7 separate regions of the Homo sapiens genome follow, and regions 1, 2, 3, 4, 5 and 6 are each linked to region 7. The links are contacts of gene promoters, found by promoter capture Hi-C in blood cells and fetal thymus (Javierre and others, 2016). All regions are on one chromosome and are shown on one strand. The core of a region is centred on a gene start or on the middle of the fragment in contact, and the rest is flanking DNA. Distances in the headings are between cores, read along the strand shown.

Region 1 (3,988 bases), core at 100-2,599, 400 kb before region 7:
GGAGTATTAAGAAAGAAGGGTTACCTGCCTCCTAATTTTCAAATATAAGAAACATCCTTTTTGCAAAACGGTGCCCCAAAGATCTTATATCATCAAAGAAAGAGAGAGTGGGCCTGTTTTTAAAGCTCTCCTTCCTGGTGGTGGAAATGCACTCAGAGATTTTAAAAGTCATCTTGGACTTTTGAGCAGACGCGCTTACATGAAACTTGTGGGAACAGTTCACTCTGTTCCCAAATAGAGGAACTGGTTACTGTTCTAAGTTTAGACGCAGAGCAGCAAAGTATACTTTTATAATATTAAAATAAGAAAACAATGAGAATATGGTAAATAGCAATTGTGAAACCTACAGGATTCATTAGTTTGCCAAGGAATAAGCATTAGATATCTGTTGACCCGCATCTCATTTTCTTATCACTACAATGTCAACATAGTGGAAAAAGCATAAACTCTGGCACAAACCAGCTGTCTGGTGCTGAGCAAGCTCCACAACTCACCTGAGACTTGGTTTCCTCATCTGAAAATTGCCCATTATGTTGCCCATCCATCACAGATGTTGTGTGGAGTAAAAATAATACTAAGACACTAACATGGTGCCGGGTCATAATACGTCTTCAGTATGCATTAGTGCTCATTAGCGGAATTAGCATTAATCTCACCACCTATGATTAATTATAAAACCTCAGCAGAGAGCTTGAAACATGCCTCCAGCAACTGTTGTGACCAGTTTTATCAGTTGATAGGCTAAACTTTTGAAGGAAATAGTCCCCAAATGCCATGGCCAAAAATACAATAAAAGTTATTTATTTGTCTTCAGACAGTCCAGAATAGGTGTTCTAGTTCAGGAGGGCTCTGCTCCACACAGTCATTCAGGGACTCAGGCTTTTGTAGTCTAAGTATCTGCTATCTTTGGTAGTAGCACTGCTGCTGTCACCATTCCAGCCCAAAGGAAGGTGGAAGTGGCCTGCAGGAGTGTGTGAAGGAGGTTTCAAGTGGGCCTGGGGAGAAATGGCAAATGCCTGTTGTCAACTGCATTATGTTAAGACAACCGCTGAGGCATTTGGGAAATGCGGTATAGTGGGGTAGCCACATGCCAGCCACTTTGAGAAAAGGGGAAGATTGAGAAAGCCACTGGTTTATTGCATGGTGCAGTAATGATCCTCTGTACTCCTTCTGAATGGTGGCACCAACCTTTTGCTGAAATTTTAGTGACAATTTCCGATGTATGCCAAAATTAAGAACTCAGACACAAGGCATATACTTTGCGGTAATGTGGGTTGTGGGTAGGTATATCTGGGTACTCAGGACATTTGACTACCCATGTTGGGACTTAGCTTAGGCTCTGCACTCCAGCCAGGGACTGATGGGGGCCTGTGTCTTAAGAAGCACCCATTGTGATTTGCTGGCATACTTGTGATGCCAGAGGGTTGGCCTGCGGCAGGCAGGAATGACACCAGGGACTTTAGGCAATGAATCTGGGAACCCCAGTGGGGAGGTTGCCTCATGGGAAATCCATCTAGAGCAGGAGAAACATAGATACTGGGTGACAAGGGCAGGAAAAGAGGAGAATTGTGGGCCAGGCAGGGAAACTGGGCAGGGCTCCCACGCACCAAACTTGTGCTCCAGGCATGTCTGCAAGGCATCATATAGTTAAATCCAGAGACTAAGGCATTTCTTTGGCCTGCACTAAAACAGGGTATGCAGAGATTAAGCAAGAAGAGAATTTAAATAGGGGGTAATGTTGATGGCTGGAAGTTATCCCCAGGGCCCTCCAGGGCCAACTAAATGGGAGCAAAATATACCAAACCACCAGCTCCTCGCTCTTGGGCAACAATTCCTTTCTAAGCCCTACTGAGTGGGGATACTGAGGATTCACATGCCCGTTGCTGTAGTCAGGATCGGCCCAGGAACTCAGGTGCCAGTGGGAGCCTTGGGTGGATCCATCTGTAGGGGCGGGGGCAGCATTAGGGAAACCAGGGAAACATTGACAGATTATCTTATGAAACTGCACTGCAGCTCCAAATGCCATAAATGTGTTTCGTTTAATTTTTAGTCACTCTCCAGTTCTTCAAGAAATATTCAACAAATGTTGGCAGATTCAATCAATCGTATGAAGGCATATGCATTTCACCAGGTAAAAGACTTCCCTTCTGTCCTCCGGGGGCTGCATACCTAGGCATTTCCACTAATGTTTCACAGATTAGTTAATTAATCTCATGCAGAAATGAAATTAAGCAGCAGGATGGGAAATCTGTCCTAAAAGCTGCAAACACAGTTCTGCATCTTTACCCGTTTATCTGGAGTTCGGGAAGTGTTGAATGTCATGGAAAGAACAGATGCCAAGTTGTATTAGCTAAACTCCTCCCAGAAGATCTAACATAGAGGCGGCATCCCAGGCTGCTGCAGACATGGAGGGAAGACTGATTTCAGACAGTGATAAATGGAGCATTACACTTGGCAGAAAGAGTGAATTCAGATCGAGTTACTTCTGTGCTCTTTGTTTCTGAACCTGTCCCTTGAGGGTGAGCAGCTGCTGTGTCCTCCACATCCACCATGCCTGGAACCCCTTCTGGCACTCAGCCCTCTCTCACGTCCATCTAGATGTGACATTCTCCCTCCAGGCCAAGCCCTGCTTCCTCCGTCGTGTGAGCTTGCTATCATGTCATAAATTGCTCAAAATAAATGAGGCATAGACTGGTACTTGGAAGCTGTAGTAGGATTTGACCTACCGAGAGTCTGAAACAGCAGCGTAAGATGTGAGCCTGTGAAGAGAAGGTTCCTGAGATCGGGCTGTGGTGGAGGTCAGGCCAGGGACCTGTGTTCCTGTGGACCATGCCATGAATTCCATGATTCCTCTGAAGGGACATGCATGAACTTGCATTTTTAAGACTTCAAGAAATCAGGATGAAGTTGTGGAACTGTAGTCCTGTGTGCATACTGCTGATACAATACATACTTCTTTCTAAAACAGCAGCAATAGGGGATCTAAAGGACATTTTCATTAATTCTGCTTAGATCTCACTATGTCATTTTAAATGGGGACAGCTGAGGAAGACAAAGGATCGTATATTCATCCAAGCAACATTTATTGAGTGTCTACTACACACTAGGCACTGTTATGGGAGTTAGAGACACATTTTATGAAAAAATCAGACAAAATTCCTGCCTTCAGGGAGCTTATATTCTTCATGGGAGAGAGAGATGATAAACATATCTATGAGGACAGGTAATCACTTATTAAGCACTGCAGAGGAAAATAAAGCAGTATGAGGGAACTGAAGAATCCTGGGAGGATGGAATTGGGATGGGACAGGTAGTCAGAGAAGGCCACTCTGGGAAGGCAGTATTGGAGCAGAGACCTGAAGGAAAGAGGGAAGGAGCAATGTGGATGTCTAAGCCATGTGGATGTCTGTTCCAGGCAGAGGGAACAGCAAGTCAAAGACACAGAGGCACTACCTCACTTGGCATGGTGGGGAAAGGGCTGATCATTTGAGAGAATGAATGAGCCAGCTTGCTAAGCTTCTCTGTAGAACAAAGGTGATAAAACAGAGGCATCCTCCTTTGGGGACACTTGTGAGGCTCTGATGAAGGAATTGGTGGGGAGGCATTCTAAGTGCTTCCATCAACAGGCTGGACAAGAGGCTTTCTGAACGGGCCCAGCGGCTTTCTATATGGGCCCAGCGTGCCCTTGTTTTCTGGTACTGTTAGCTGAACACATTTTCACAGCTCACACCACACATCTGGGTCTCCACACCTTCCACCCTGGGCATCTGGATTAGCATCCAGCCTCGGCCCCTCCGCCCCTCCACTCCAAGCCATCACCTGGATTTCCCCATGCCTGGCTGACAGTCCTGAGTCCTGGTCCAACATGCTTCCAGCAAAACACTGCTGAAAAGGAAATGATGGTCTTCTGAATAGAGAAAGTAAACCATTACAGATTTTGATAAAAGTAAAATTCTCTCAGAGACGCAGGACAAGTTCCTTACGTTTT
Region 2 (3,639 bases), core at 353-2,852, 430 kb after region 7:
CCCAGGAGTTTGAGTCCAGCCTGGACTACATAGCAAGACCCCTAACTCTCAAAAAATTTTTAAAACCAACATAGATATTGATATCATGTTTCAAAAAGTTATTTTATGTGGCATGCAAAAAAAGTATGACCTTTGTTCTAGGTGCTACCCCAAAATATTTCATGTGGCACAGTGTCACTTGGGCTGCCCACTGAGAAACACTGATGTAGACCAACCTTCATCTCATAGACAAGAAATCCGAGCCTCTGAAGGTTAGGAGATTTGTTTGGGGTTGCACAGTTAGTGTCAAACTGGGATGAAATCCCACGCTTTTCAACTTGCCAGCTTATCCTCTACCATGTTCCCTTGCTCTGTGGTTCTAGAAGCACGCTCATTCTTTTGTTTGAGCTACAAACCCCTGATCAGAAAGATGCCTTCATCTGTGAAAATAAAATATTGACTTTCATGATTAGTTCTCTATTCAGGATTTCATATCATTAGTCAGCATTAAGTCACAGTACCTTGTCAAACTTCAAGTAATAAGAGTTTCTGGGGAGAATTTCATTTTCTTTGACGTGGCTTCTGTTGTGGTATCAACAATATCACTCATTTAAATTTTAAAATAGATTACCATCATGAAATCTATCAGGCCCTAAAAATTGTATACTCTTTGACTTAGTAACTCTACTACAAGGAACCCATCCTACAAAAGAAAAAAGGTCAGAGATGCAGCCAAAGACTTATACTCAAAATGATCAATTGCAGAATTATTTTTCTTAGTGAAAAAAGTCAAACATGTTAATGGTGGATTATTAAGCGGCTCTTAAAAATTATATTTTCAAATAATTTTAATGATACAGAAAATACTATTACTATAACGTTAAGTAAAAAAGGGAAATTAAACTGTGTTTTCAACTTTATCTCAATTGTCTAAATATAAATATATGGGCACATTTTTGAGAGAGTAGAGAGATACTCAAATGCCAGTTATTTATAATCAATGACTTCAGTTATCTTCTGTGTATTTCTAAATATTCAATAATGAGCTACTTTTGTAATTAAAGAAGTAAATAATTTTAAATGATTATCACTGAAATTCAATAGTCAGCCTCAGGTGTTGGGAGTACCCCAAACACTGAGGTACTCTGTTCTAAGCCCAGGGCTGGAAGAACCCTCTCACTACTACATATTAACGTGACCAAGGTCCTAAGTGAACCAAATTCTCAGTTAAGTTTTAACCAGTAAATGCATGCAATTACTTAAGATCCTTCATTTCTCTATATAAAGGAGGTATTTCTGAATACAAATTGACTTAGGATATGTATGGATAAGAATAAAAGACAAGCCATGGAAAATTAAAAAACATAGTGAGTGAAGTAAGTACTACAAAGAGAGAGAAACACACACACCCAAATCCCAAAACAAAAACAAACAAAACCAGGAATTTGCCAACAAATCAATAGTAAACTTTACTTAACAGTCAAAATCCTCTGACAGAGACACAAATCACAAGGAAAGATTAAATTTGTCCGGAGAGAGAAAAATCTTACCTTGGAGCCCATGTTGGTGTGAGGCACTCAGTGAGGTATTGGCAGCTGTTAGCAAGACAGCAGGGACACTGTTCTCTGAACGTGGATGTGCTGTTGGATTTATTGCCTCCTGTTATCTGAGGATTCTGTGTATGTGTGTGTGTGTGTGCCTTTGTCCACAAAGATTTAATTGCAACCTCCAACAGGGTTCATTCAGACCCTTAGCTCCCTGCGTCAAAGGCAGGAAGGCAGGGCTGGAGAGGATAAAGAGAGGGCAGATATTAGCCTAAGCAAAGAGGCACTGGACTGTACTGTTTTGCATCTGTGCTTATCTATCATCGAACTCTTTAACTCTTGCCTGGGTCTGAATACAAATTGGAAGCCAAGATGGAACCAGTGTGCAGTTCCTGTTCCTTGCTACTTAGTCAAAGTGGCTCCATGTACCCCAATTAGCTTCCTGGAAAGAAACAATGTATGTTGTTCTCAAGCCATAAAAACCCAACATCTGTGGCCTCTGTAAAGGCTTAGATTATGCACTGTGTCTTCACATCTCAATACTGGCTCAGTGCCTGATACATGGTAGCATCCAATAAATATTTCTTGCATGGATGACTGGATGGTTAACTACAGGAGAAAGTGCAGTTCCTTGTGGGATCTTGAGAGGCTCTAATGATCTATATTATTCTGACATTAAACCATTGGTGGCTCAAAGAACATAAGCAATTTATGAAAAAGCAAATACACTTTACGAGCAAGAGCAGTGCAGAGATTTCCTATTTGTGGAACTGGTGGGCCCCTCCTAATTGTGGGAATTAACTAGGGAACTTTCGATTTAACGCTAAAAAAAAAGAAAATAGTTTTTTAATTTTATTTTTTTTATTTTTGAGACAGAGTCTCGCTATGTCACCCAGGCTAGAGTGCAGTGGCATGATCTTGGCTCACTGCAACCTCCACCACCTGGGTTCAAGCAATCCTCTAATCTCAACCTCCTGAGTAGCTGGGATTACAGGTGCATGCCACCATGCTCAGCTAATTTTTGTATTTTCAGTAGAGACAGGGTTTCACCATGTTGGCCAGGCTGGTCTCGAAGTCCTGACCTCAAGTGATCCTCCTGCCTTGGCCTCTCAAAGTGCTGGAATTACAGACGCGAGCCACAGCGCGCGGCCTAGATGGAAACAGTTTTAAAATGTAAACCTAGAGCGAGAAATAGGGATAGGAAACAAAGACATCAGCAGAATGTATTCATCGCTATAGTTTGCTGCTGTAACAAATTACTACAATCTGGTGGCTTAAAACAACACGTATTTAGTATCTTGCAGTTCTGGAGGTCAGAAGTCCAAAATACATCACACCGGGTTAAAATGAATGTGTCGGCAGGGCTGCATTCCTTCTGGAGATTCTGGGGGATGGTTGTTTCCTTGCCTTTTCCAGCTTCCAGAGATCTCCTGCATTTCTTGGCTCCTAGCCACTTTTACCCTCAAAGCTAGCAGCAATGCATATTCAACTCTCCCTCTGACTCTGAGCCTTCTGCCTCCCTCTTTCACTTGTAAGGACTCACGGGATGACCCTGGGCCCACCCAGATATTCCAAGATCACCTCCCCATCTCAAGATCCTTAATCATATCTGCAAAGTCCCTTTTACCATAGGGGACTACCAAGGCAACATACTCACAGGTTCCAGGATTAGGAGGTGGACATCTCTGGGGTGCCACTGTCCACTCCCTACAGGGAGCATGGCACACTGCCCCCCACTTACATGCAGGGCCTGTGGCCTGAGCCTCTAGGGAATGAGGGGGTTAGGGCCAAAAGATGGAGGAACTGTATTAATAAAGATATTTGCAAGACTCTGGGCATAAGGCAGTATCCTTTTTGGAGTCCAGGTGACAATTCTGCCACCATGCCCTCCACCCTAAGTACAGTGTTAGAACTCTGAGGGTTGACAGCCTCCGGCATAGTGTACCTGTGTCCAATAGAGGGCGCTAGAGGGAGAGGGCTTGGGTAGAGCAGCCTCACAGGAATGTTCCGAGACAGCACCTAACTGGGGATGCCCCCCAAAAATTGGGAAATCATGATTTTGGGAAATTGAGGGCCTGGGAAAGCAGGTATAGACTAAGAATCATCACATGTTGGG
Region 3 (3,862 bases), core at 890-3,389, 450 kb after region 7:
TGTGAGCTGCTGTGCCCAGCCTAAAGCTTCACACTGAACCTTTAGAAGTCAGAGATCCTTTTTGTGTCCCCACTGCCTAGCACAGTGCCTGACACATAGAATGTGCCTTGTAATTGTGTAACTTGCATTTAAACTCAAAAAGCTTTGTTTTTTGAATGAAGAAATGGAGTAATGTTGACAGTTCCACTGTACAAATTAGATCCTTTTAAAAAATAGCTTCAAGATTATAGGACTTTTAAAAGAAATGGAAAACATATTCAGGCTTGAAATTAGGAAATTATCTTGAGCATTTTAGTTGAATTTCTGAAGTCACAAGGAATGAAAACTTGATTTTCTCTTAAAAGAAAAGATTCAACAACATACATAGAGCTTTCGGGTGCTATGTATTTTGAATTTGGTCATCTCCATTTTTCTTGAGACCCTAGATCAACTGGCCTTAAGTTTCTTATATCATAAAGCAGAGCCAGCCCTGCAAAAAGTCAAAATAGGAATCTTCTCCTTGCTTTTTTCCTAGAACCTCTTCTTCAGGTGCTCACTGCTCATCATGCAGATCTCTACTCTTCTTGTACAAGGGAAGATGATTGCTCTGGGTTTTTGTTTTGCTAATAAGGCAGAGGCTAAAAGACTAGGACACTTATTATGCAATGGCTGTCAACTTTTTCTGAGTATTTCGTAATCATTAAATGGTGTTACTAGTGTTGAGCAATATCCTATCCTGCAGGAGGAAGAGGATGTCATCTGATAAAATATGTGCTCCTTAAAACCCGTGTAGATTTTGGGTTTTAGATGTTACTTCATAAATACTTGTCTGGCTCATATGATAGTTCAGAATCAAAGCCAAGACATTTTGGTTGTAAAATATGTTAAGAAGGTAATATAAGCATATATCTTCTGTGTTGTCAGAAGTTCTGATTATCCCCCATTCACACACCTACGGGCTCAAATTCTTTTTCATTTGGAGAGGAGTGGTCAATATGTAGGTAAATAGAAATATTTAGGTAATTTACAAATGGGTTTTTTCCTGTTTTGAAGGGCAACTTAATGTCTTTGACAGCCATAGTTTAAACTGGTATCTCTGTTTTGGGCTGTTAATGGTAATGGTGAGGAAGGCTGGATAAATCTAGAGATAAAAGGTAGTGTTTGTTATCATTCTGCTTGGTTTTCTTTGCAGATAGTTTTAGTACCATGGAGAAGAGCTGTAGTTTTATACAAATTGTCTTTTTGTCCCCACTTGTAGTCCAAGTGCTAGAAGCTGTATGATCTCCATACTTTTTAATTGTACTGAAGACTAAGGCCAGAAATATTATAAGGGTCATAGAGTACCAATCCTAAGATTAAAGAAAAACAAAACAGTTAGAAGCCTGGCTCCCCCATTTAAAAACAAACTTATCAGGGCCTTAGTTTCCTTAGGGTGCATCAGCCTTGCCTACTGTCTTAGCCATTTTCTGCTCCTTTTAACAGAAAACCTGAAACTGGGTAATTTATAAAGAAAGGGAATTTATTTCTTAAAGTTCTGGAGTCTGGGAAGGCCAAAGTGGAGGGGCCGCATCTGGTGAGAGCCTTCTTTCTGGTGGGACTTGAAAGAGTCCCAGGGTGGTTCAGGGCATCACATGGTGAGGGGGCTGAGAATGCAGGGGCACTAGCTCAGGTCTCTCTTCCTTTTGTAAAGCCACCAGTTACCTTCACATGATAATTCATTAACCCATGAATGGATTCATCCATTCATAAGAGCAGAGCCCTCATGACCCATTCCCCTCTTAGAGGCCTCACCTGTCAGTACTGCCACATTGGGGATGAAGTTTATTGCCTGGTGCGTTAAAAAGTAAAAACCTGTTTTGCATACCTAAAATTGCAGGCTTGTGAAATTGTTTTGGGTGGTATCGCTTCATAATTCTTACAAGATACCATACCACAAAAAATGAACCAGTTCAGTTTTAGAATTTGGGCTGTAGTAGAGTCAAAGAATAAGTGGCTTTGGAGCTAGAGTGTACACATTCAGATCCTTGGGCTGGTTGCTTGTGTCCTTGGGCAAGACACAATAATTTCTCTGAGAATAATTTTTCTCTTCTAAAACTTAGAATAATGATAGCTAACTCTGTCTGTTATGGAGATTAAATGAGAATTCCTGAAAAGTACTTATTAAATGTATGATAGTGTTATCAATTAACTTGCAAGGTTACTTACTAACTTTTTAAAAGGCTGGATACGTTGTTCCAAATTTAGAGACTTTTGATGAAGTAGAATCTTGTCTTCTGTAGTAGATGTCAATTTGAGTCACTGTTTCCAGGAAAAGCTATGACTAGTGTTTCTTTTTCTTGGTCATACTTTTGCTCGTGACTGGCAAAATTTCATAGTTTGGAATGAGCTTGAATTTTAAACATGAGATTCTAAAGCAGTATTGTTGTAGAAATCAGACCTATAAAGGAGATACAATCTTGTTGAAAAAATAAAGAGAATTTTAAGAACCTGGTGTATTTTACTGATGTTGCATTTTATTCAAAACAGTTAATCATAAATCTCAATACCATATCCCCTCCCTCACCCCAGCTGTTTGGTAAAGGTTTTGGAAAGGTCTACGTTTCTGCATTTCTGAAAACTGGTTTCAAGAAAACATATTTCTAATGTAGCTCACTTTCCATTTCCACATGGCAATTTTAGAAAGCCATTGTAAAAAAAATGCTGGGAGTCTTTAAAATGAGAACAATGAAGAAATCTTTTAAAGGGTTGGAATTATGTTTTTTAAGAGTATTCAATCATTTTAAAACAGTAGGGATGGTTTTCATAAAAGTGGCAGAAAATGTGGCAAATGGGGTCTTTCTAGTAATCTAGGGGAATGATTAATCCTTTCACATGACCATCCATCCAAGTAGCTTGCTTTTTATCTAAAGTGGGGAAAAAAAAATACAGTTCAGTTGGGGGGCCTCTATTGAGACAGTTGCAGTACAATTACTGATGTATTCAAGCAAATATGTGATGTCTGGATTTAAACGTCCTGTTAGCAGGAAAGATGGAAGCCCTGACAGTGCTGTCTGCTCTGTCCCAGCATTTTTACCAGGGCTCTGGCTTCCCCGCCTGAGGCTGAAGGAATTGTAATTTTAAATTCCAAAGCCACTTGAGTGGACAGACTGGTTAGTAAATGGTTTCCTCATGCTTGGGAGTCCACATCTGTGCCAGGAATCTCTGTGCAAGCTCATTATAAGACCTCAAAAGAAATCAAGCAAGTGAAAAATTCCCAGTTGCTAGACAGCTTCATGTTAATTATTTTAGGCCTTATAGTAAATTTTCTTCAAAACTTTAGTTCATGTATTTTTTTTCAGTTGTTCTGCTTATGAAATTTAGTGAATTTTGTAGGTGTCTGGTAGAATTACTCTCCCCTGAGTGTTCTTATACCTGATCCCCATTTCACTTGCCATGCAGGTGTGATAGGTGAGGGCTTTGGGTAGGACCTGCTGGGGTAGAATTAGCTGTTTATTCCTAGGGCGCACTTTGCAGTGGAAAACAACAGTCTCTAACCTGGCAGTAACGTTTGACTTTTTTTAAAAGGATCCTTTTCTTATCTTGTTTGACCCCCTGGCCTTTCTTTCCATTGCCTACTCCGTCCTTCAGAAGCTCTTTTCCCTAGTTTTTATGACACCATTTAATTGTGGCTTTTTACCTTGCAGGCTATACAATTTCTCCAATTTCCTTTGTGACTTTTGTCACTTCTGCGTAACATTAAGGATTCCCTTTCCTCATCTACTTAGCTAAATGCTGCGTCCTCTATAAAGTTTTTACTTTTCTCCCTGAGGTGAGAACTATTCCCCTGTTTCTGCTGTGCTCCCACAAACCCTGTGCAGGCCATAGTTAGAGCCCTTATCTCATC
Region 4 (3,729 bases), core at 427-2,926, 440 kb before region 7:
CCAAGGTGTTTCCTTACCTAATCTCTGAAGTGGCAGACCATCATCACTTCTGCCGGGTTCTATTGGTCAAGCATACCAACCTTTACAAAGTGGCAGGGAGCTATGCAAGGATGTGAATACCAGGAGGATAGGATCCCTGGGAATGACTTGGAAGGTAGGTGGCATGGTGGGCAGAACCCACAGCCTAGGGTGAGATGGCAGGAATGTGGAATTCCAGTACCTTAATGTGATATGAACTGATCTGAGTGAATGTGTTTGAACACTCACCACATGCCAAGAGCTCTTCTAATCTCTTTGCATGTAGCATCTCATTTAACCCTCTTGACAACTTACCGAGGCAGACACTCTTTATCTAGAGGAGGAAAGTGAGGTACAGAGGTTAGTAGCACAGTGATAAAGCTGTTATAAGGAAGGACTTGCCAGGACCTGGAGAGAGACTGGGTGTGAGGAAGGTAGGCTGTCACAGTGTCCTGTGGGATTTTTCCTAACTGATAAACCACCCTGTATGGTTCAACTGATGCATCCATGCAGGGCTAGGATTCATTCTGACCTCGTCATAGCAGCTTTCCAGGGGCCAATCCCACTCCAGCCTAAAGCACCCCATATGCTATCATTTAAACTGCAGTAGGAACTAAGCCTTACACCAGAAATTCCTCCCTGATGGGATTCCTGGAATTGTTCCTAAATAGCTGGGTCTTATTTCCTGACAATGCCGCCTGCCCCGAGGCTTGATGTAACTCTGCACAGCTTCTGCAGTTTGGAGAGGCAGGGAAATGCCATTTTGTGTTTGAATCCAGCAGGTCAGGCTCCTAAAGAGGTCAGGTAGTCCGTGGAGAGGACTACTGGTGTTTACTGTTTATTACATCTCTCCCAATACACAAAATCTGGGGTTCACCAAAGCAGGCGGTTTTCTTCCACATGCTCCTCTAGGATGGAAAATGCCCTCCAGTGGAAATGCCTTTCCACTGTGCTTCTGCTCAATTTTCCTCCAAGATTTCCTCTAACTGTGGACTGCCAGCTCCTCCCTGACGTCTTCAGGCACCAAGCCAACCTGTTCTTGTTGCAATCCTCAAGACTCCTTTCAGCATCTTAACTTTTCCCCCAGTTTTCTTTCATTTTCTCCACCTGTCTGTGTTGACTGCGGTCTCCTTCCTTCCAGCCTTTTCCTTCCTTCATCTTGTCCTACAAAGCCACACGTGTACCGACAAGTGCCAAAGAGTTTGATCATTTACTTAATGTCAACAAAAGAAAAAAAAAAAAAGCTCCAGAGTCGCCTTGGCCTGCAGCACCCAAGCAGAGTGAACAAGTGGGGCCTGCGCACCCTCCTACCCTACACCTAGCAAGGAACCCCGAGCTCTGAAACGTGGAAAGGCCCAGATCTGCAGATTTAATCTAAGTCCTGCAGTCCCCAAGAGATCACAGACTGCAGATCCCTGTCTCATGAACTAAGAGAGGAGAGGACAAGCCTACCCCGGACTACCGCAGCTCGGGGACAGCGCGCGGGCCAGGCGGCCCGAGATGCGCAGGCCACGCAGCCTCGCCGACGAGTGGCCCTGGAGAGCCTCCAGGCGCCCGGGTGGGGCCGCGATTGCGCCCCGCCAGTCACCCCGGCATGTGGGCGCGGCGGGGCGGCGCGGGCGGGACGGCTACAAGAGCTGTTTTGCGTCCGGGCCGGAGTATTTGCTCAGCCCGCCTGCGCCGCTTGGGACGCCTCTGCCTTTCCCTCCCTCCCTTCCCCGACGGCTTCTGGCGGCCAAGTGGATGTGGCGGGTGATCGAGCCACCCTGCCCAGGGGCGCCCAGCACTGGTAGGTGCTGGGGGTGGGGCGAGGCTTTGGGGAGAGTGTGCGTGGGGTGGGAGTAGGGGGAAGGGAATTTCCTCGGAGGTTGCATGGGTGCATGGGAGGCGCAGGGGCCAGAGCGGGCGGGCGGAAGCCTCACCCCCGCCTCCACCCCTTCGCGGCGCCCGGGGCGGGCTCAGGTGCGGGGTTGGGCGGCGAGAGCGGCCGCGGCGGGTGTCCGGTGTCCGGTGTCCGGTGTCCGGTGTCTGGAGCCGCTGGCTAGGTGAGCGGCGGTCCCCGGGGCCTGGGGGCTTGCAGGGGGTGGCGGGGGAACTTCGAGGGAGAGGGTCTGCCGGGGCTGAGGACCTTCGGGGAAGTTCTGGAATCCGGCAGGGACACGCGGCGCGTGCTTCCACCCGCGGGGAGTGCAGGCCCCGGGAGGGTCCGGGCTGGCCTAGAGTTTCTAGACTCCTAGCAGGAGCACGTCCTCGACTTGCGCATGGAAATCTTCCAGGAGGGAAGTCCCGGGAAACGGTGGCAGCTGGCGCAGCACCCCCGCAGCACGTTCCCCGCGCACCGGCACCCAGGGGCGCCCCCACGTGGGGTCTGGGAGCGCGCGGAGGCCAGTGCAGCGCCGCCTCCCTCGGGCTGCAGCGGCGGGGCTGGCCCAGACCCAGACCGGGTGCCCAGTGCGCTCAGCCAAGCGGCGCCCCTGCCCGCTCCTGGACTCGGGGGTCACGCGGGCACCGGAAGGAGCTACAGTTTGTAGGTTTTCTGAGTTGTCTCTCCCTTCCCAGGGAGCTTAGAGAAGCAGCAAGCGTGGCACCTCCCCCTTTCAAACAGATGCTCCTCATCGCTCCAAAGGCTTTCGTTTGATTGCTGGTTTAATAGAAACAACGACTTGGGTACGATTATTTTAAAATAGTGAATAAATAAGTGGAAAGCATACAGGGGCATAGATTTGGCATATGAGTGGAATTCTCTATGTATACTAAATCTGTGTGTACAGTAATCTCAAATTTCTGAAGAATAGTATATATTTACAAACTGCTGTCATCTCTGGTAATTTGTTTCATCCTCAAAAACAGCCCTTTTGCTGGTAGATGAATAAGATAAAGTTTCAATAAGAAAACAAAGTTGGACCACAGAGCTGGCTGTTTTAAAAGAATTAGAATTCAAACTGTATTGTTAATGTTATAGTTACACTGTCCATACCACAATACTTTTATTTATTTTTTATTTTATTAGGTCGGTGCAAAAGTAATTGCGGTTTTTACGTAAAAAAAACCGCAGTTACTTTTTTTTTGGCCATGTAAAACACAATAACTTTTGCACCGACCTAATGTTTTTAATTTTTGAGACAGGGTCTCCTTCTGTCACCCAGGCTGTGGTGCAGTGGTGCGATCTCGGCTCACTGTAGCCTCAAACTCTCCAACTCAAGAGATCCCCCCACCTCAACCTCCCAAGTAGGTGGGACTATAGGTGCGGGCCACCACGCCTGGCTAATTTTTATACTTTATGTAGAGACGGAGTTTTGCCATGTTGCCCAAGCAGGTCTTGAACTCCTGAGCTCCAGCAATCCACCCATGTCCACCTCCCAAAGTGTTGGGATTACATGTAGAACCACTGTGCCCGCCTACTATTTTTATGATTTAGCCTGTATCTAAGGCCTTTTAAAATTGTATTTTGTTTAGGTCTCAGAGTTATTCAAAAGACAGTTGTATTGTAGAACAGTGTGAAGGTGTGAGAATCAGGCCAAATCTATGGTATCATGGAAAACAACGGATTCTCTGACCTTTTAGCAATTGGTGTTCAGAATAAATAGCAGGTGTGGGCTTGTTGCTTATCATTTCTCTCTTTTAAGAAAGGGGCTGTGTTAGCTGAGCTATTCCTTTGTTGGATCTTGAATAACCGGAGATTTGCTGCCCTTGATATAGTATGGGAAAGTC
Region 5 (3,968 bases), core at 899-3,398, 430 kb before region 7:
CTGGTCTCCTCCACTGTTTGGTTATTTGGGGCATCAGAATCCTCCATGTTTTTCGTTTGTTTATTGTCAATCAGGACTCTCTTTTCCCTCCCCTTTCTTCTGCCCTCTGAATAAAGCACCTGCTTTTCCAAGGTTCTCTTCTTGGCTTCATTCTCTCTATGAGCTCATCTGTACCAGTGGCTTCAATAACGCCACCTATAGAGTCATTCCCAAGTCTACATGGCTAATCTCGGCCTCACTTCTGGACTCCAATTCTGGATTCCAGATGTCGATTGAAAGTCCTCATATGGATTTCTAGTAAAAGTAAAAATAACGTAGTCTACGCTTCCAAAACAGCTTGTTTTTTTTTTTACTCCTTAAGCAAATGAATTTTCTTGTCACTACTTCTGCCTGTCCGCTGCTGTGTTCCCAGTTAGCGAGTTTCAGGATTCTGGCATCATCTTTGAGTCCTTCCTTAAATCCAGTGGCCTGAACCTTCCTAAATTCTTGAATACTGTCATTTCCTATGCCTGCCCTATTTAGGACCTGACTGCCTCACTCCTGGTCTTTTGACCCCTAGTCTCTCCCCATTCTCTCCCCAAATGCTGACTGAATACCCACCACATGCCACCCTGGTCCATCCTGTATATACTGACATGCGGAGCAGAGCTTCCTCAATCACTTTCTGATCCAATCCTTGCACCATCTGCTCAGAAATATTCGTGCATTCTTCATTGGCCACTCAGATAAAGAATGTGAAAATAATACACTGTGAGCATTTGTCACCTAGCAGGCCTGTGAGGTAGGACTTTCTTACCTCTGTTTACTATAGAAGGAACTCAGGCTTGGAGACATAAATTGATGTATGCATGGTCTCATAACTTGTCAGGGGTAAAACTGGGATTTTGCTCTAGCTTTCTGGCTCAGCTGCAGTACAGGTCCTAAATTTCAGTCCCTTAGCCAGGTGTGTGGGACCCTGTGCCACATGGCTCTCTGCTCCCCTGTGTGATGGTCAGCCTATGCCACACACGTGCAGGTGACTTCTGGTGCCCCTCTCGGCCCTGGTGGAGACCCTCATTTCCTATTGCCCATGGCTGCCTGCTGATTCCCTTCTCTGTTCTTTGGTCATGTTGTTCTTTGCATCCAGCGTCAAACACACCCTCACTCTCTGTCTAAATTCCATATCCATCCTCCCATACTCAGTACAAAGAACTTGTCGTATTTCTCTTCTGTCTTTACAGAGCAATCTCTCCATCCCCTGAATCCTCACTGGACTTAGTAGAAAATCCACTGTGGTTATAATGTATGCTGCCCTGGCCCTCCAGGGACTTAGTTCTTTTTTTTAAGCATTCCCATAGCATCCTTTAACACCACCCCCACCAGCTTTTGAAGTTCTAATAATTTTAGAATTAATTAAGTATCCATGTCTGCTTTCCACAACTAGAATGTTAGTCTCCTGAGGACAGGGACTACTAGAATGTTAGTCTCCTGAGGACAGGGACTACTAGAATGTTAGTTTCCTGAGGACAGGGACTAGACCATCTTGTCCTAAGTGTTTACTTGTGTGATATGGTTTGGATCTGTATCCCCACCCAAATCTCATCTTGAATTGTACTCCCATAATTCCCACATGTTGTGGGAGGGACCTGGTGGGAGGCAATTGAATCATGGGGGCAGTTTCCCCCATACTGTTCTCATGGTAGTGAATAAGTCTTCTGAGATCTGAAGGTTTTATCAGGGGTTTCCACTTTTGCATCTTTCTTACTCTCCCTTTGCCTGCTGCCATCCATGTAAGACGTTACAGGTGCAAGTAGCTCCTCCTTGCCTTCTGCCATGATTGTGAAGCTTCCCTAGTCATGAAACTTTAAGTAATTAAACTCTTTCTTTTGCAAATTGCCCAGTCTTGGGTATGTCTTTATCAGCAACTTGAAAATGGACTAATACACTGTGTCTACCTCAGTGCCTGACACGTATTAGATATGTGATGAAAATTCATTAAATGCATCACCTAATGTCTTGCTCCTTCTCTTGTAGACTCTAGGTTACTTGCAGGGGAATGGGCACATCTCTTTCATCCCTTTCATTCCTGTATCACCTGCAGCATCTAGCTCTACATCTTGCTAATAGCAAAAACTCATTTTCTGCCTTGTAGAATGAACTACTACGAAGGCCTTGAGAGTCATCCCCTCATCTGATGTGAAGCCGAGGGTATCCCAGCTAACACTCATTATACTAGAACAACTTCCCCCTCCTCCTACAGCTTCAGGGAGTTCATGGAACCACTTGAAGCTCCTCCAGTATCCCCACTCTCTGAGCTCATTGAAGAGCTCTTAGAGGTGAAAAGTCAGCAGAGAGACCATTGTCAGTGCCACTCTGTCAAGAGCCCGTTTTTCAGCATCTCACTAACTCTGACATTTCCCATCTCATTCTCTTTCTTCTTGCCAAGAGCCACTGCTTCTTTATGGTCACTGTGTTCTCTCTGTTACCTCCTTTAAAGCTTTCTTGACTCTGCTCCTCTCCTTTGCTCTCTTCTCTGTGTTTAGCTTTGAAGCCCCAACTGCTCACATGCAGTCCTAGGATTTCTCTCCCCACCTGCAGCAATGCCCCTTTTCCCTAAGAGTTCCTGCCCTGCCCGTAGCCCCTGGAGGCTGTTCTGGAGCTGTTCTGGGCTGTCCTAGCTGAGGTGCTGGAATCCCTCTGCTCTTCCTTTTTCTTCCCCTGGCACAGTGCCACTTGCCATCTTTCTGGGCATCTTCCTCTTGCTGTCAAAAAAAAAATACCGACAGAGAACTACTTAGGTGAAGGCTGAGAGGCTGACATAAAAAAAATATTATTAGTTGGCCTGAGAGAGTGTAATAAAGGGAGTTTTATGAGGTATGACAGCTTTCTAAAGTTAACAAACCATCTGGCATTATGTCAAACAGACAAAGAGCTTGCCAGGAGCTGGCACTGGTGCCCAGCCCCATTTGGGCATGGTGGGATTGACCTTCCCCTCCTTACCTGGAGGCCACATTTGCTGTTTCTCCACAGTGAAAACAGTAAATGGGAATTCTTTGGTAGTGCAGAGTCTGAGTCTGTTCCCTCTGCCCAGCGTCTCTGTTTAGAACATACTGCAGGAGTGTCCACTGTACCAAGAAGGGTAGAAAGGGTCAAAAGAAAGCACGAGCCTGGCTTTGAGCAGCCTGCTTTGGTAATGTATCCCAAGGCCACAGTACAAAAGTCAAGAATACGTTGGACAGAAGACACCTTAATTGGAAACCTCCTTTGACTTAGTGTGAGAGGACAAGACACAATCCCAGTGTGGATGTTTTGCTCATCAAACAGGGCCCAGCACACACACCAGCCAGGTGCCCTCTTCCATGCAGTCAGCACCACTGCTAGTTTGGGGTCTTGACTAGAGGTCCACCTTTGGCCCACAGTTGCCCTGGGTAGGCCTGACAGACTCAGGGATGGTCTCTGTTGGCCTCTCCTAGGTACGCTCCACCTGCCCCCGGTTTAAGGGAGCATGACCGATGTGGCCGCATTTCAGGAGCACTAGGATATAATCTAACCTGGAGGCCAATTGTAAACAAGGGTTATTTAAGTAGCTTCACCAAGTATCATACTACCTGGTTATATTATCTTCTCACAGGCTGGTGTGAATCTCTGAGGCAGCCATATAAGTAAATAATAGGCTAGCAATGATAGCAGTTAACCTCTATTGAACTCCTGTTATGTGGCAGGCACTAGGGGAAGAACTTGGCACAGGTAGCCTGCCTGCCCACAGCAACCCTAGGTAGTAAATATTGGTATTCCCATTTTGCAGATGAGGAAATTGAGTCTAAAGAGTTTAAGAAAGTTGTCCAAGTCACATAGCTCGTAAGTGACAGGGCTAGGATTTGAACTCAAGGTGGTCTAAATCTAAAATACCTCCTTATCTGAGGCAAGAGGATTGCTTGAAGCCAGAAGTTTGAGACCAGCCTGGGCAACAAAGCAAAGCCCTGTCTCTA
Region 6 (4,209 bases), core at 315-2,814, 480 kb before region 7:
GGAGCATTATTACATGGCACTACTCCTAGAGAAATCACTCCTGAAGGTGCCATTACAATAGCAGCAGCATAAGAAGAGAAGTGAATATCATTTGCACATTAATATCATTATCTTATGCCAGGCACAGCGCTGAGCCCTTTATGTGCATGATCTCACTATATTCCAACAGTTTGAGGTGGGCATGGCCAGCCCCATTTTTATACATAAGGAAACTGTGCTTCAGGGAGATTAGGAAACATGAGCTAAGTCATGCAATTAGTAGGTGGTGGACCTGGGCACAGTGCCAAAAACTGGGTGGGTGAAAACAATAGCAATTGTTTTTCTGACAGTTCTGGAGATTAGACGTCCCAAATCAAAGTGTCAGCGGGGGAAACCTACCTGGGAGAAACCTTCTGAAACCTGGAGGAGAGACTCTTTCCTTGCCTCTCCCTAGCTTCCCGTAGGGGTCAGTAATCCTTGGTGCTCCTTGGCTTGCAGCTGCCTCGCTCCAATCTCTGTCTCTGCTGTCACATGGCCTTGCCTCTGTGTGCCTGTGTCTTCACCTGGCATTCATCTACCTGTGGGTCTCTCTCCTCCTCCTTTAAGGACACGAGCCATATTGGATTAAGGAGTCACTCTCCTCCAGTGTCAGCTCATCTTAATGTAGGTAATTACATTTGCAATTATCCTCTTTCCAAATGAAGTCCCATTGTGCGGTACTGGGGATTAGGACTTCAATATATCTTTTTGCGGAACCACAATTCAACCCATAACATTCAGTAAAATATGTCACGTGTCATGTGAACTAAAACATGCTCTTACCAAGCAAAAATATGATACCTTGAAGTTCATATTCTATTTCACTCTTAAATTTTTAAAAAACCATATAAAAGCTCCAGGTGGCCACTTGAAGAAGGACAAAATTGAAGGACACTTTCAGTTTCTTTGTCCTTATAATTCCTGTGTTAGCTTTATTTTAAATCTACTGTTTAAATTCAAATAAGTGTATTACTACCAGGGTTGTAGACAAAAACTGTGCCTCAGGTGAGTTCAAATCACTCACAGCTGTGATAAACTTGTTCTCTGAATGAAAGCATGTATTTGTGTTCCCATGTATAATTAGTAGACTTGCCAGATGAAATACAAGACATCTGTTAAATTTAAATTTCAAGCAAACAACAATGTTTATTTTGGTATAAGTATGTCTGAAATAAACATGAGGCATATTTATACTAAAAATCATTTGCAGTTTACCTGGAATTCGAATTTAACTGGGCATCTCTTATCTTTATTGTTAAATCTAGCATCTCTAGCTGAGAGACCTTGGAATTAACTTTCATGTGGAATACAAGGCTTATTAGAGGTTAAGAAACAAAAATGTGCTAAGTTGAAGCTTTCACACATATCATTAAAATTCAATAGTAACCATGACAATTATTTGCAATGGCGACCTACAAAATAATTTTTCAGGAAAGACTATTTTATCACTGACATGATTTAAAACTGCCAAACACAACAATAACAAAAGCAACCTAATTTTTAGTCAGTTTTATAATTGTTTTTACGTTTTCAACAGATAATGCGGCCTCTTATTGTTTGCATGGGAAGCTGGTGGTATCCACTGTCCCACCGTTAGTCCATTACTGACTGTGAATATTAAACATATAACATGAGCGGAACACAGTCTCAAAAGCCCTCTTTCACATCCATTATTCAATTTAATCCTTGTAGTGGCCCTTTGGATAGGCCGATGTGGTTTAAAAAGTATGTAAATGAGAAAGCTTGTGTGACTGACTTACCCACAGCCATGCACTTCCCGCAAGGTAGATCAAGGGCCAGTGGCCCTGTCTGTTAACCTTTTGCCCGGGACACCTTGGTTCTAATGCTAGTTTTACCACAAACTAAACTGACTTGAGCCACTTTATTTATCTTGGCCTCACTTTCCTCATGTATAGAAAAAGACAGAGTTGAGCCAGGTGACTTTTGAGATGTCTTCTAGCTCTGAGATTCTACAGTTCAGATCTTGGGACCAGTTCAGACCCAGGCATTTAGCCTCTTACCGTTGGCTGGGAGCAAGAGAGGAGAGCCGGGACACAGCACAGGGATGTGGGAGTGGTGTCGAAGCATCCCAGACTTTACCTCTGTCATCATTTGGCCCTGGAGCAGTGAAGTGCCGCTGTGCAAACAGCAAACAATACACACTGCACTGCACTCGCCCCTAAAACTAGAGAATGGTGCCAAGGAATCTTGCTGGGAACGCCCTTCTCATCAGCTCACACTCACACACGCCAAGAGCATGTACGCACACCGTACACACAAAGTCAAAGGACCGAGACTCTTCAGGTTCTATATGAGAGCCTTATTAAGGACGCTTCAAAATTCTCACCATCAGCCAGTGGACAGGGGGTCAGCAGCCCCATTAATCTACTTCCAGGGTGGGTCTGATCTCATTGACACCCATGTGAATCCAGTGACTTGGTCTCTAGCACAGAGTTTTATTCAAGCCTCAGTGCACTTGCTATCTCTGCCACTCAGTTTTTGTGTTTTATTATTACCTTTGTGAATTTTTAAGATATTATGTGGGTGTGCAGGCAGATGAGGCCTGGAGAGTGTGCTGGGCTGGGAGAAGACAGAAAAGCAGGTAAGGAAGAACATTAAAAGCAAAGAGAAGAGAAAGGCCTGAGGAATCCTCTTATTGCCTGCATCTAACATATATATGTATGTATGTATAATACCTATAATTCATATACATATATATCAAAATAATAACTGCAGCAGTAACAAATAGAACAATAGATATATTTAATTGCAAGACCGAATAGAGTAACATACTTTTTTCCTTCCAAGTTAATTTACGGATTTAACACAATCCCAGAGCTGGAAAAGGCTCTATGAAGCAGACTATCTGCTACGTCAGGGGTGACTTCATAAATCAGCACAACACTTCGAAAGCAAGTTGGAAATATGTGTAAAGAATTAAAAAATATCAAAGCCCATTGGCCATAATTTACCTCTGGGAATCTGCCCTAAAGAAATAATCCAAAATAAAAAAAAACCTATGTGTTCATAGATGCTCAGTACAGTATTTATAATAATGAAAAACTGGAAGGAATTTAAATGCTTACTAATGGAGAATGGTTATGGAAAAACATAAAAGGGATATTATGCAGATATTAAAATTATTGCACAGCAAATAATGTTAAGGAAAAAAGTACAACATAAGTCTCTATTGTTATAACTGGCAAAAAGCTTAGAAGCAAATGTTTTTAAAAGTTGCCTTTTTGATTTGGATGGTAGGTAACTTCTTTCCTTTCTAAATATTCTGTAATTTTCCTGTTATAATAAGAGAAAAGTAAAATGTAGACCAAAATTGAGTTAGTAAAGTGTACTTTATTTTTTATGACGCAACTAACCACATCCCATATTTGGCCTGCCAAATATCACTACTCACCTGGTAGCCTTTTTCCTTAATTGTGGACACAGTCCCTGAGAAGAAAAATATTAATCTTATAAACTAAAACAATTACACAAGAAGTATTTTATCTCAAAGCAGCCCCTGCATAGAGCAGGCCTGGGTACACAGTTTACCGCAGTGAGTCAACCTGCAGGGCTGCACTGGCTCTGGAGCAGGCTCAGGGGAGGGCAGTGTCTATAAAGAGATCTGGCCCATGTAATGTGTTTGTTATATCTCAAGAGGACAAGTTATAGGAAGAACCCAAGAAAGAACCGTAAATGAGATGAAGGCCATTGTTTTTAATCCCCCTGTTTTAACCTGTTCTCATGCTGCTAATAAAAATATACTCACTCAAGACTGGGTAATTTAAAAAGGAAAGAGGTTTACTGGACTCACAGCTCCACATGGCTGGAGAGGTCTCACAATTGAGGCTGAAGGCAAAGGAGGAGCAAAGTCACATCTTACATGGCGGCAGGCAAGCGAGGGCATGTGCAGGGGAGCTCTCCTTTATAAAACCATCAGTGCTCATGAGACTTACTCACTATCACCAGAACAGCACAGGAAAAACCCTCCCCCATGATTCAGTTACCTCCCACTGGGACACTGCCACGACAGGTGGAAATTATAAGAGCTACAATTCAAGATGAGATTTGGGGGGAAACAGCCAAATCATATCACCCTTTCACTACAATTTCTCCATTCAGACACTGGTTTAATCTCCTGCTGAACTATGTGTATTTCTGTAAGCCATCTCAAATTTATATTGGAACAAGATG
Region 7 (2,700 bases), core at 201-2,700:
TATTTTGATATTGTATTATGTGGAGTACATATGGTGTGGCAGCTCAAGGCAGACGAATTATTAAATATGTACGGTGATCTTACAATGGGTATGGCCCGTCTCTTGCTTTCTAGGAATTGACCATCTTCCGGCAGCCCAACACCTAGTCCCCTGTGTATTATGCACTATTACAAAACGTGTTCAAGTCGCCTTTTATGCCTAAGGCTTACATAAAAATTCATCTTGCCTTTCTGCGTCTATTTCCAAGTTTGAAGGACCTTTCTCCCTCCAATTAGCAACATTTCAGCACTGCACAGGGCTTATTAATGCTCACTGTTGCAAGTAACACCAAGGTAATTTGACTTTCTTGTAGGAACAATGTCGACGAAATCCTACAGAATTAAATTTAAATTTCCAGTTTAAAAAAAAAAACCGTGAAAGAACACTTCATTACCTTTATTATCTAGACGTATCTAATGACGTTAAGTAAAAACTGCACCAAGGCTTTGAAACCAGAAGAAAAGTGGAGTTTGTGAAATTTAACCACTCCATGCTTTTTATTAGTATTTCACTTATGAGTATTTCCCGAGGCTCACTGTTTTGGCAGGCACAGTGCTGTTAACATCTCTTCCTTTCTCACCATTCTTTGCTCATCGATGAAAAGATAACTTCAAAATCTCTGACAGGAATGCAGGTGCAGGAAGTGCGACGGAAACAAACAACTTTGCCTCCGCTTCCTACAGCTTTCCTCTCCTCCCCGCCCTTCTAGCCCCCATCCCACCCCAAGATCATGCCCTCGAACAGCTTCTGCCCACCGATCGCACGTCCCCTGGGCATGTTCGGGCAGCGGTGACCCTCAGCCACATCCCCCACTAGCCCGGTCCCGGGCAGGCGAGCGCGCTGCCCACCGGCCACCCTCGTCACGCCCCCTCCACCCTCTCCATCCCAGCCACAATAATACAATAACCGCAGTCATCGCGCGGCACGTGGAAAGGCTACTTTTCAGTGGGTTTTGCAGAAAGCAATCAGACAGCGGAAGGCCACGAGAAACGCTGGTGAAGCCAAACCGACCCCGGGAGCGCAGCGGCCCCGGACCCTCCCTGGAAGCTCCCTCCGCGTCCCCGCGCGCCCACCTGGAGGCGCCGCGCCCTCCGCCTGCCAAGCCGGTCCCCGGCCCCTGCCCGTGCCCTGGGCCCCCGGCGGGCAGCGGCGGAGGGAGGCCAGGCGCGGCACCGTCCTCCGCAGCTGCACGAGCCACCCCGAGGTCGCGGGGTGGGCGGGCGCGAGCTAGGCGCGCGGGGCTGTGGGGATCTGCCGGCGCCACTGACGCCCCCGCGCGGCACACCGCGCCCGGCTGGCCCGGGAGGGGACCCGACTCACCCGAAGCGCCCTGCTAGCTGCCCGGCCCGGCTCCGGCCGCTGCCGCCGTCGCTGAACTTTCCCTCCTGCGCGGCCGCCGCGGACTCGGCTCCACCTCCCGCTCCGGCAGCCGCGGAGCCTCCAGGGACCCCGGGGGCGGGGAGCAGCGGCGGCGGCGGCGGCTCGGGCGGGCGGGCGCAACAGCGGCCAAGCCTGGCGCCCCGCCGCAGGGTAGGTCCGGCGGGGGCGGCCAAGGCCGGGCTGGGGTCGCGGTTGGCCGCGTACCTCCGCGTCACCCACGGCCTCTCTGCAGTGCGTCCCTGCGCCCGTCGGAGCGGCGCCCTGGCCGAAGCCTGTCACTCTCGGAAGGGGCCGCGCTCGGACACCAGGGGCGGTTTACGCGTGACTGGACACCAAGAGCCGGAGAAGTTTAGAGACTAGGACACTGTGGCGTGGCCCGAGTTGCAGGAGAGAGGTGTCCAATCTCCATGGGGTCCTTACTCTTGCAGGACAGAGTTCCCCATCCCCCTGCTCCACCCGCTCTGTTCCCTTGGCTGCCCTCCCCGCCGAGCGCCGACTTCCATGCAAAAACTTTGTAAATCGCACTTCGGGGAATTCACGCTTTAGTCGCGGTCTCTGCTGCCCTGGTCAGCTATAACGCCTCCCCTAGAGAGCTTTTACTTACAGCGAAGGTCAGGAACCCCTGTAACTCTCACACCGCACCACTGTGGGTAAGCGATGTCTGCAGGGACCCCTGACGGCCACTGGGAGGCCAGGAGAGAAGAGGGAGAGGAAAGGCTAAAAAGGCAAGTGGAGTGTTGGGTAATAAAAGATCCACCGCCACCTCCAGCACACACAGGCAGGCACCCTCCAGGGCCACAGGTCGCCTTTTATCTGTAAGTGCTCCAGCGCATCTCTGTGGGAGAGGGAGTTGGGAAATAGGATCGCCAATTTTCAGTGTAATTGAGGGGGACTCAGGAGGAGTCAGTTAGACTGGAAGAGGTCATCACCTGCAGATGCGGTTAAGCAACTTGCAGAGGCCCCAGGGCTGAGCCACCGCAGAACCGGAGCTGGAAACCAGTCCTATGACTCCTGAGGCAGTGCTCTTTCTACTACCTGGCCATGGCTCCTTCTACTGCCTGGCTCAGAGTCTCCATCTGGGAGATTCCGGCGCACCAGACTTTATTGTGGGCACAGGGTAGGCAGTCCTGAGGCTATAGGCACAGTCTTGAAGCAGCTCGGTTTCCATTAAGCTCCTGCTTACCTGCAGGAAGCATCCCTGAAGCAAGTTTTGCTTCCCACCTGGACTCCCCAGGTGGACCTATCCCCACCCCACACCCTGAGTGAACTCTTCACCCTCGT

What was found. Contacts are between HindIII fragments. The CHiCAGO score rates a contact against its expected background, and 5 or more counts as called.
Region 1: a fragment that was not itself captured here is called in contact with the fragment with the promoter of CSGALNACT1 in region 7 in 14 of 17 cell types (non-activated CD4 T cells, total CD4 T cells, neutrophils and 11 more); the score reaches 16.5 in non-activated CD4 T cells.
Region 2: a contact is called between the fragment with the promoter of SLC18A1 here and the fragment with the promoter of CSGALNACT1 in region 7, in 1 of 17 cell types (neutrophils). The highest score is 6.8, in neutrophils.
Region 3: a contact is called between a fragment that was not itself captured here and the fragment with the promoter of CSGALNACT1 in region 7, in 1 of 17 cell types (neutrophils). The highest score is 6.1, in neutrophils.
Region 4: a contact is called between the fragment with the promoter of SH2D4A here and the fragment with the promoter of CSGALNACT1 in region 7, in 2 of 17 cell types (non-activated CD4 T cells and naive CD4 T cells). The highest score is 5.5, in non-activated CD4 T cells.
Region 5: a contact is called between a fragment that was not itself captured here and the fragment with the promoter of CSGALNACT1 in region 7, in 4 of 17 cell types (non-activated CD4 T cells, naive CD4 T cells, activated CD4 T cells and 1 more). The highest score is 7.7, in non-activated CD4 T cells.
Region 6: a contact is called between a fragment that was not itself captured here and the fragment with the promoter of CSGALNACT1 in region 7, in 1 of 17 cell types (non-activated CD4 T cells). The highest score is 5.7, in non-activated CD4 T cells.

What each region holds. Positions count from the first base shown.
Region 1 is chr8:19,355,153-19,359,140 of GRCh38, forward strand. SH2D4A (SH2 domain containing 4A) reads left to right here. Exons shown (of 10, transcript NM_022071.4): 5 at 2,051-2,131. Among named protein-coding and RNA genes, the nearest start is that of SH2D4A, 43 kb to the left of the region's middle. The HindIII fragment of the contact is 4,329 bases long and covers 1-3,514 here.
Region 2 is chr8:20,181,534-20,185,172 of GRCh38, forward strand. It overlaps SLC18A1 (solute carrier family 18 member A1), which reads right to left and starts at 1,603. Exons shown (of 16, transcript NM_003053.4): 1 at 1,530-1,603. The HindIII fragment of the contact is 10,670 bases long and covers 1-3,639 here.
Region 3 is chr8:20,200,297-20,204,158 of GRCh38, forward strand. All of the region lies in intron 1 of ATP6V1B2 (ATPase H+ transporting V1 subunit B2), which reads left to right. Among named protein-coding and RNA genes, the nearest start is that of ATP6V1B2, 4.8 kb to the left of the region's middle. The HindIII fragment of the contact is 3,998 bases long and covers 141-3,862 here.
Region 4 is chr8:19,312,017-19,315,745 of GRCh38, forward strand. It overlaps SH2D4A (SH2 domain containing 4A), which reads left to right and starts at 1,677. Exons shown (of 10, transcript NM_022071.4): 1 at 1,677-1,807. The HindIII fragment of the contact is 8,347 bases long and covers 1-3,729 here.
Region 5 is chr8:19,328,022-19,331,989 of GRCh38, forward strand. The region is part of intron 2 of SH2D4A (SH2 domain containing 4A); the gene reads left to right. Among named protein-coding and RNA genes, the nearest start is that of SH2D4A, 16 kb to the left of the region's middle. The HindIII fragment of the contact is 652 bases long and covers 1,823-2,474 here.
Region 6 is chr8:19,271,902-19,276,110 of GRCh38, forward strand. All of the region lies in intron 4 of LOC105379300 (a long non-coding RNA gene), which reads left to right. Among named protein-coding and RNA genes, the nearest start is that of SH2D4A, 40 kb to the right of the region's middle. The HindIII fragment of the contact is 388 bases long and covers 1,371-1,758 here.
Region 7 is chr8:19,755,827-19,758,526 of GRCh38, forward strand. CSGALNACT1 (chondroitin sulfate N-acetylgalactosaminyltransferase 1) reads right to left here and starts at 1,451. Exons shown (of 9, transcript NM_001354483.2): 1 at 1,360-1,451. The HindIII fragment of the contact is 8,664 bases long and covers 1-2,700 here.